Regions from separate parts of the Homo sapiens genome. Here region 2 is linked to region 1. The links are contacts of gene promoters, found by promoter capture Hi-C in human tissues and cell types (Jung and others, 2019). All regions are on one chromosome and are shown on one strand. Each heading gives the region's core, a stretch centred on a gene start or on the middle of the fragment in contact. The rest is flanking DNA. Distances are from core to core; before and after follow the strand shown. Region 1 holds the start of HORMAD2 (HORMA domain containing 2). Region 2 has its middle 12 kb from the start of ASCC2.

Region 1 (4,758 bases), core at 630-3,129:
GACAGAGCAAGACTCTGTCTCACAAAAAAAAAAAAAAAAAAAAAAAAAAAAAATTAGATTGAGAGAAATTCTATGAAAGAAACAGAATAACGAATAACTGTGTTTGCTGGTGGGGTAGACTGCCAATAGTATAGGGCAGAGAGGGGTAAGTCTTTGGATATGGTAGCAGTTGACTGAGCTCAGATCTGAAGGCAGAAGAAAATTAGAACAGCCAGCACAGAGGGCCTAGTGATCCAGCCAGAGAGGCTGGTAAATGCGGAGGCTGAGAAGGGCTGGTGCAGACAAACCATCTGTGTGGTTGGAGCTTAAAAAGCAGTTACTTCCGGAAAGTATAGGGTGAACGCAGTAGTTCTCAACAGAGGGCAATTTTGCACACCCCATGGGACATTTGGCAAAGTCTAGAGAAATTTTTGGTTGTTATGATGGTGGGGGTGGGGAGAAGGTTGAGAAAACTTGCACTAAAAGAATATTTCAGCCCAAATTTCAGTTTTAGTCATTATGTTCTAAACTCATGTTCTCGCCAACTTGAATAGTTTTTTTTTTCTTTCCTGCAGAAACAAAATAAGAACAGGTTTCAAGTGGCTCACTCTTTCATCTACTCTCTTGGGAAATCCCCTTGGGGAGGTTCATGGGACTCCAGGAGCCTTTGGAAAGCACCACAGGATACGAAATATCTACCTAAACAGGTGAGAAACGATCCAAGGAGCCACACCCCCAACTGCTCCCACAGTTACCAGGGCAGAAAAAACTGAGATTAGGGGTAGGGCACAAAGGAGAATATATTTATGTTTTATTTGCATAATTACAAATTAATGTTAAAAAGAATGCAAAGTCAGGTCCAGGGTAGGGATGAAGAGGTTGCAGATGCCCTCAAGTATTGGAAAGCTCTGGCCTTCTGGCCTTATGTCTTTTTTCTTTCTTTTCTTTTTTTTTATTTTTGAGACAGGGTCTCCCTCTGTTGCCCAGGCTGGAGTGCAATGGTACGATCTTGGCTCACTGCAACCTCAAACTCCCCGGCTCAAGCGATCCTCCTACCTCAGCCTCCCGAGCAGCTGGGACTACAGGCGCACGTCAGGTGGCCCAGCTAATTTTTGTACTTTTTAAAATTTTTTTGAGACGGAGTCTCGCTCTGTCGCCCAGGCTGGAGTGCAATGGCGGAATCTCGGCTCACTGCAACCTCAGCCTCCTGGGCTCAAGCGATTCTCGTGCCTCAGCTTCCCAAGTAGCTGGGACTACAGGCGCGCGCCACCACGCCCAGCTAATTTTTGTATTTTTTGTAGAGACGGGTTTTCAACATGTTGGCCAGGCTGGTCTCGAATTCCTGACCTCAAGTGACGCGCCCGCCTCAGCCTCCCAGAGTGCTGGGATCCCAGGTGGAGCCACCGCGCCGCACTTCTCGGGCCTTCTTCTAACTCGGGTCCCTGGGCCCCCCAGGCTCTCGCTTCCCTCCCCTACGCCGCCCCGCGCCCGCCTCAGACCTCTCTGGGACCCGCCGGCCTGGCGTCCTGGCCCGCCCGAGCCCCACGGTCCCTCGGGTCCTAACCTCGGCGGGGCAGGCACCTCCTCAGGAAGCCCCGGAGCAGGCTGTCGTTGTATAGGTGGCCCAGGCTGGCGGCCCCTGACCGAAGGTCGCGTCGGGTCAGTGTGCAGCCCGTGGCTGAGAGGCGGCTGCTGAGGGGCCGGGCGGGCTAGGGGCCGGCTAGCCGCCGTTCGCCCCTGCTTTGCATATTCATGAAGTCTAGCGAGGCCGGTCGCCCAGGCTAGCCGTGGACGGGTCATGAATTATTCATGAGGAAACCTCTGGTCCCGCCCAGAAAGGCCTCGTTGACTATTCATGAGCCGAGGAGCGGGTTTGGGCCGGAAAAGGCCGTTGACCCCCGGTGGGAGGGAAGCGTCGACGAGCTGAGGTGAGGGCTGTTGAGACGCGAGGTCTCGGCCCAGAGAGGGCACTCGGGCGTTGTTAGTTCTGTCTTTATGTCAAAAAACAATTTTTTTTTCTTTTCTTATTACTTAAGGCTTTAAGTTGGATTTGAAAGTATCATATTTCGTGAGGGCCTAAAGTACTGTGAAGAGAATCGGGAGGGCAGGGGGCTGAGGAGGAAGGCAAAAGGGAGGCGATTTCCCCCAGAACTGGACAGAGAGCACCCAGGTAGTTTTGAAATTCAGATTTTTCTGGACATGAAATCAAACTTGCTGAGCAAGCAGCAGCCATAATGAGCCATGATGAGGCTGGCAGGGCAGACGATGTCTGTGCCCGACATTGGAGGGGGCCGTGTGTGGTGGAGCTTTGGGGAAGTTTATCTTACCTGGGTCAGATTCTCCCCAGCCATTGAGGTTTTCTGCCAGGATCGATGCCTGGTACAGGCCAAGAGGTGAGAGAGGTGGGGACAAGACACCCCGCCCCCCTTGACCTCAGCTCCCCTTTCACTTTAGTGAGGATTTGCCAATTAATCCCTATGGACTTTAGTTCCCTAAACAGAGGGAGAGAGTCTTGAACCTCAGGATTAGCCAATCGCCAAAATGTGTCCGAGTACGCAGGGCACTGGACAGGCTGTGCAGTACATCGTGTACTCAGCTGGTAGAAATGAGGGGTGGTTCTGGCCCCTAAAGGGGTTTTTAATCTCAGCAGGATCATAATCTAATTTCTCCTCCATTGGACCATCAATCTGTTGAGGTAGGAACAGTATTTTACATCTCGTAATCCTGCATGTTGTTGCCTGGCACATTGTAGTTGCCTCGTAGATGTTGAATGAATGAATAATTGAAATAGCATGAAAAAGATATTAAAAAGTCAAAAGAGCATGAACAAATACTCAATTAATATAGTGGAAGCCATTTTCTCTGAATGAGCACAGGTAGGGGAATTACCAGGGCCAAATGGAATTTGTTAAAATGGTGAATAATTTATTGAAGCAAGCTCTGTTGGAAGGTCTAAGTAATTGGGCGAACTTTGGCAAACCAAGTTCCCTTGCTTAGCCTCACTTTCCTTTTCTTTTTTCTTTTTTTTTTGTGAGATGGAGTCGAGCTCTGTGCCAGGCTGGAGTGCAGTGACGCAATCTCAGCTCACTGCAACCTCCACCTCTCGGGTTCAAGCGATTCCCCTGCCTCAGCCTCCCATGTAGCTGGGACTACAGGTGTGCACCACCACGCCCAGCTAAATTTTTTTATTTTTTTTTATTTTTAGTAGAGACAGGGTTTCACCATGTTGGCCAGGATAGTCTCGATCTCTTGACCTCGTGATCCTCCCACCTCGGCCTCCCAGAGTGCTGGGATTACAGGTGTGAGCCACTGCACCTGGCCCCTTTTCTTTATAGTTTTATGTTTAGGTTTAAATCCATGATCCATTTTGCATTAATATTTGTATACAGTGTGAGATTTAGGTTAAGTTTCTTTTAATTCTCTGTTCTTCCCCCCACCCTCCAGATGTCCTTTTGTTTCAGCATCATTTGCTGAAAAAAAGATTCTTCCTCCACAGAATTGGATCTTCTTTAAATCAAAGGGGTTGGAAGATGTCTGTGCTCCCTTCCAGCTTTAGGAATCTATTGAACCCATTTATGTTAACGTACACTTCTTTTGAGTAAAGCCATTCTTAACAACATGCATGTGTAAGGAAGGTAATATAGTTACATTTCAGAATCCAGCTATTGGATAGTGTTCACCTGATAGAAAAGGGATTTTCTTGTAAAAAACGGTTTTTGAAGATTGAGAAAGATGGGTAGAGAGCCTTCATAAATCAACTATGATTATATTTGGGAAAATGTAATAAAACTTTGGCTTTTGCTTCACTTGGAATGGTTAAAAAAGTGGTTTAGGCCTTAGTAAACTAAACAGCAGCTGGCTAATCTTTATGTGAATCTTGGACTCACACATAGTAGGGGTAAAATAGGAAGTAATTGTGCCACCATATAAAATAGGGCAATTGAAGGCGTGGTGTGGTGTCTCATATGTGTAATCCCAAAACTTTGAGAGGCCAAGAGTTCGAGGCCAGTCTGGGCAACATAGTGAGACCTCCCCCTCCACCCGCCCGCCCAACTCTACAAAAATAAAAAATTTTTAAAAATTAGCAGGGCATGGTGGTGCATGCATATAGTCTCAGCTACTTGGAAGGCTGAGATAGGAGGATCACTTGAGCCCAGAAGTTTGAGGTTGCAATGAGCTGTGATTATGCCAGCCTAGGTGACAGATCATGCCACCGCACTTTACTCTGTCTCAAAAAAAAAAAAAAGAAAAGAAAAGAAAAGAAAATGAATACACAACAACAAAAAAAATAGGGCAATTGAGATATAGGTCAAGAGGTAAGCCTAGAGTGAATCTTTACCAGAAAGAGCATAGAAATATTGCCTCTTTCTCAAGAAGATCATAATCCTTGTCACAAAGTAGACATATCAAATGTAAGAGTGAGGGTCAGTTGCAGTGGCTCACACTTATAATCCCAGCACTTTGGGAGGCTAAGAAAGGAGTATTGCTTGAGCCCAGAAGTTCAAAACCAGCCTGGGTAACATAGTGAGACCTCATCTCTACCAAAAATAAAATTTGCTGAGTGTGGTGGCACATGGCCTCTAGTACTAGCTACTTAGGAGGCTGAGGTGGGAGGATCACTTGAGCCCAGGAGGTCGAGGTTGCAGTGAGCCAAGATTGCGCCACTGCATTCCTGCCTGGGTAAACAGAGTAAGACCTTGTCTCAAAAACAGAAGAGGGAATGGTATTGATGAACTGTGAAGTTTCAAATATGTGTGGATCTAATTTGCAAACAAATAT
Region 2 (4,758 bases), core at 1,439-3,938, 230 kb before region 1:
CTGACTCCAGAAGAATCTAGAGAATGATCACTGCAGTGAAAAGTCTCAAATCATCCCCGAGGGCCCCTAATAACAAAACATCTGCTTGTCATTGTCTCCTACCCCTTTTGGTTTTAGAGAGAAAACAGCGTTAAGTGACGATAATGGTAAACAACTTAAAAACCAGGTCTCCTGGCTTCCAGGAAAAGAGCTTTAATTTGAAGGCAGCTAATTATCCATTCATTATAATTTACAAATAGTAGTTGTCTTGCCTCCTGTCACTGGTCTGTGAACAACAGTCAGAAAGATGAAAAAAAAAGTCAGAGTTAACACATTTTAGAAATCAGAGGGCAGAGAACCCCCAAATTGAAGAAAACTCTTACAGAACATGTAATTCAAACCTCTCATTGTATGGATAAGGAAACTGAGGCCCAAAGAGGGAATGGGGCCTTTTTAGAGTCACCCAGCAGTCGGGGGGATGGCAGAATGGGCACTGGAACCAAAGCTTTCATGCTGGCTCTAGCCTAAAGCCCCACCCAGGGAGATGAAAGGGTGGTTCTGTCTGCCTCCATGCAGCCTGGAGACTCTGCACTCAGACCACCCATCAAAGTGGCAGTTGGCATGTTCAGGTCTCTCTATAATCATCAGGGTGGGACAATAAAGCCACAGAACCAGGAGGTAGAAACAATTCCTCAAGGGCTGGGACATGGTTTAAATTCAGAGGGGGTTGGGTCAGCGAACATTTTGCTTCACGTCAAGATTTAACATTTTTTATTTGGTAGCATCTTGAACTTTTTTTTTTTTTTGAAACAGGGTCTTGCTCTGCTGCCCAGGCTAAAGTGCAGTGTCAGTGATCACAGCTCACTGAAGCCTTGACCTCCTGGCTCAAGTGATCCTCCTGCTTCAGGCTCCTGAATGGCTGGAATTACAGGCACAAGCCACTGTGCCCAGCTATGTAAAAAAATTTTTTTCTTAGAGATGAGGTCTTGCTCTGTTGCCCAAGCTGGTTTCAAACTCCTGGACTCAAGCGATCCTCACAGCTCAGCCTCCCAAAGTGTTAGGATTACAGGTGTGAGCCACCATGCCCAGCCACATCTTGTACTTTCCATGTAGGATCTGAAAGGGAGGAATTTCAAGATGTCTCTGGGCTACGCTGGTGATGGGAAATATTGACACTTAGTGGTTTTGGCCATTAAACCTGGGGTTTCAATCCAGTGGAATATCGCCAGCTCTTTAGCTTTCCTTGAGAGAGTTTGAAAATAAGTTACTGGAAGATTTGCCTTGACCATCAAGAAAAGAGGGGAACCCTACTTTCTCTTCTTGCTGGGTATCTACTCTCTGGGCTTGCACAGTCCCCAGAGATTTCAGTATGCAGCTGCTCTGACCTAATTCCTTGAGTACAATGGCCCCTTCACACCTCAGGGCACTAGCCCATGCTGCTTCCTCGGCCTGAAATAACCCCCTGCTCTCCTTGTCAAGGTAAAGCCTCCTCTTCATCTCATTTTTTCCCAGGTTATAATCACTTTCCTGATATACACATTCCTAGTTAGCTCCCTTCACTTCCCTTGTGTGTCACTGGTCACAGCTTATCTTCTTGTATTTATTGTGTGGTCAATCAGTGATTGACTCCTTCATTAGGCTATGTGTTCTGACAAATTAGAGACCTCATCTGTTTTGTTCACCAACCTTATCCCCAGTGCTTAGCTTGGTACCTGGCATCTTACAGTGTGCATTAAATATTTGCTGGCTGATGATTGAATCAAAGTGCTAGGATAATCTAGACCAACTCTTCCAATTCCAAGTAAAAAACCATGGTCCAGAGATGGGCAATGACTTGCCCAGGGTCACAAAGAAGGCATCTAATAGCTCCTTGCTGATTACTGACTTCCTTAAAATACCTTGGCCCTGAGACAGGGCCATTTTGAGGAGAGGCAAAACTGAGAGATTGAGTTGTTTTCCATGCTGTCTTAGTCCGTTTGTGCTGTTAAAACAGAACACTTGAGGCTGAGATATTTACAAAGAACATAAATTTATTTCTAATGGTTCAGGAGGCTGGGAAGTCCAAGATTAAAGCACTAGTAGGTTTGGTTGTCTGGTGAGGCCTTGCTCTCTGCTTCCAAGATGGCGCCATGTTGCTGTATCCTTCAGAGAGAAGGAACAGTGCATCCTTGCATGGCAGAAGGAAGAAGGGCAGGAGGGTTGAACTCCCTCCATCAAATTCTTTTATGAGGCTGGGCCCGGTGGCTCACGCCTGTAATCCCAGCACTTTTGGAGGCCGAGGTGGGTGGATAACCTGAGGTTAGGAGTTCAAGACTAGCCTGGCCAAAATGGTGAAACTCCATCTCTACTAAAAATACAGAAAATTAGCTGGGTGTAGTGGCAGGTGCCTGTAATCCCAGCTCCTTGGGAGGCTGTAGCAGGAGAATTGCTTGAACTCGGGAGACGGAGATTGCAGTGAGCCAAGATTGTGACAACGCACTCCAGCCTGTGCAACAAGAGCAAAAAAAAAAAAAAAAAAAAAATCCTTTCATGAGGGCACCTAATCCTATTCATGAGGGCCGTGCCCTCATGACTCAATCACCTCGTAAAGGCTCCACCTTTTAATACTGTCACATTGGCAACACCTGAATTTTGAAGGGGACACATTCAAACCATAGCACACGTTCTGAACAACTGTAGTTCCTCTTCTTAACAGAAGGCTCCCCATGAGGCACAAATTCTAAACCCAAGTCCATGAAGGGGCTCCCAAGATCTGTGTCCCCCTTGAATTATACACAGTTGTGTTTGGGGAATATTTTTCAGTAGAGAGACTGAGAGGCTTCATCTGATTCTCAAAGAAACATCCTCAAAAGTCTAAGAGCAACTCACGCCAGCACCCTGCTGAACCTCTTCTTCCCTTCTAGCTAGAAAAGCCATCTTAAGGCCCAAGAATCTCTGGTGACAGAAACATGGCTTAGTGTGAGGCTGTGAGGCAGGCAGTGGTCAGGGCAATGGTCAGTGGCTAATACATGGAATCAGAGAGAAATATATTCTCAGCTTCAGTTGGTTAGGGACGTCAGGGAAAGCTTCCAGGAGCAGGTGCCAATCAAGCTGGGCTATAATGGACTGTGAAGGTTCAAGAGGCTAAAAGTGATGTGGGGAGGGAAACACAGTCCAGAATTCCCTTCAGGCAGCCCCAATGTCTTCACCAATGCCCATTCCCAAAAGGGGAGCTTGTTTAAATTGTCCAGTATTTGGTGTCATTTTCGTCCAGAGATCATCTTGGATGTAGAGTTTCTTTTTCCCTTTCCCTTTATTTTATTTTTTATTTTTTTGAGTTGGGTTCCCACTCTCACTCAAGCTGGAGTGTAGTGGTGTGACCATGGCTCACTGCAGCCTTGAACTCCTGGCCTCATGTGATCTTCTTGCCTCAGCCTGCCAAGTAGCTAAGACTACAGGCATCGACTAATTTTTTTTTTTTTTTTTTTTTTTTAGAGATGAGATCTTACTATGTTGCCCAGGCTGGTCTCAAACTCCTGGGCTCAAGTGATCCTCCTGCCTCGGCCTCTCAAAGTGCTGGAATTACATTATAGGTGTGAGTTGCTGCACCCAGCCCCGTCTCCCTTTATTTTTTATTATTTTATTTTCTTTTAATTTTTATTTTATATATATATATTTTTTTTTTTTTTTTGACAGAGTCTGACTCTGTCACCCAGGCTGGGGTGCAATGGCATGATCTCGGCTCACTGCAACCTCTGCCTCCTGGGTTCAAGTGATTCTCCTGCCTCAGCCTCCTGAGTAGCTGGGATTACAGGCATGAGTCACTGCACCCGGCTATTTGGCTATTTATTTGTTTTTAATGGAGATGAAACTTTGCCAAGTTGCCAAGGCTGGTCTCTAATTCCTGAGCTCAAGCAACCTGCCCACATGGGCCTCCAAAAGTGCTGGGATTACAGGTGTGAGCTACTGCGGCTGGCCCATTATTTCATTTTTTTGAGACAGATTCTTGCTGTGTTACCCAGGCTAGACTGCAGTGGCACAATCACAGCTAACTGCAGTCTCAGCCTTCCAGGCTGAAGTGATCCTTGATGCTCAGCCTCCCAAACAGCCGGGACTACAGGAGTGTGCCACCACACCTGGCTAATTTTTTATTTTTATTTTTATTTTTATTTTTTGAGATGGAGTCTCACTCTGTCACCCAGGCTGGAGTGCAATGGCACAATCTCGGCTCACCGCAACCTCCATCTCCTGGGTTCAACCTGCCTCAGCCTCCCAAGTAGCTGGGATTACAGGCATGCACCACCACACATGGCTAATTTTTACATTTTTTAGTAGAGATGGAGTTTTGACATCTTGGCCAGGCTGGTCTTGAACTCCTGACCTTAGGTGATCCACCTGCCTCAGCCTCCCAAAGTGCTGGAATTACAGGCATGAGCCACAGCACCCAGTCCCCTCTCCCTTTAGAAGAAAACATAGACTGATTTTGTGATGCCAACCACTGCCATTGGCCCTTTGTCCTTGCTGCTGAATTATTCATCCTGCACAATGAATTATTAATTTCCAATTTTGGAGAGCAAATGCCAGGCAAATAGGTAGAAATGGAAATGGAACTGGGACCCTGGGCATGGAGCCACAGACATCCCTAGGTCCTCCAAAGCACAGGCCACCACGGCCAATAAATTATACAGGAATCCACAAGGGGCTCACCCTGAAATGCACTTGACAGAGGGTGAAGTAGGTACAAGATTATGGTGGCCCTGAAGTGGCTGGGCTCCATTACCCCTGGGCTCTCAGACCTCT

The links. Contacts are between HindIII fragments. The study calls those that stand out against the background at their distance.
Region 2: a fragment that was not itself captured here is called in contact with the fragment with the promoter of HORMAD2 in region 1 in 1 of the 25 tissues and cell types used here (bladder).

What each region holds. Positions count from the first base shown.
Region 1 is chr22:30,078,585-30,083,342 of GRCh38, forward strand. HORMAD2 (HORMA domain containing 2) reads left to right here and starts at 1,880. Exons shown (of 11, transcript NM_152510.4): 1 at 1,880-1,907. HORMAD2-AS1 (HORMAD2 and MTMR3 antisense RNA 1) reads right to left here and starts at 1,673. Exons shown (of 5, transcript NR_110541.2): 1 at 1,544-1,673. RefSeq lists silencers at 1-31, 1,481-1,530 and enhancers at 82-161, 1,336-2,033, 1,871-1,950. The HindIII fragment of the contact is 22,926 bases long and covers 1-4,758 here.
Region 2 is chr22:29,848,384-29,853,141 of GRCh38, forward strand. No RefSeq gene overlaps it. Among named protein-coding and RNA genes, the nearest start is that of ASCC2, 12 kb to the left of the region's middle. The HindIII fragment of the contact is 4,899 bases long and covers 240-4,758 here.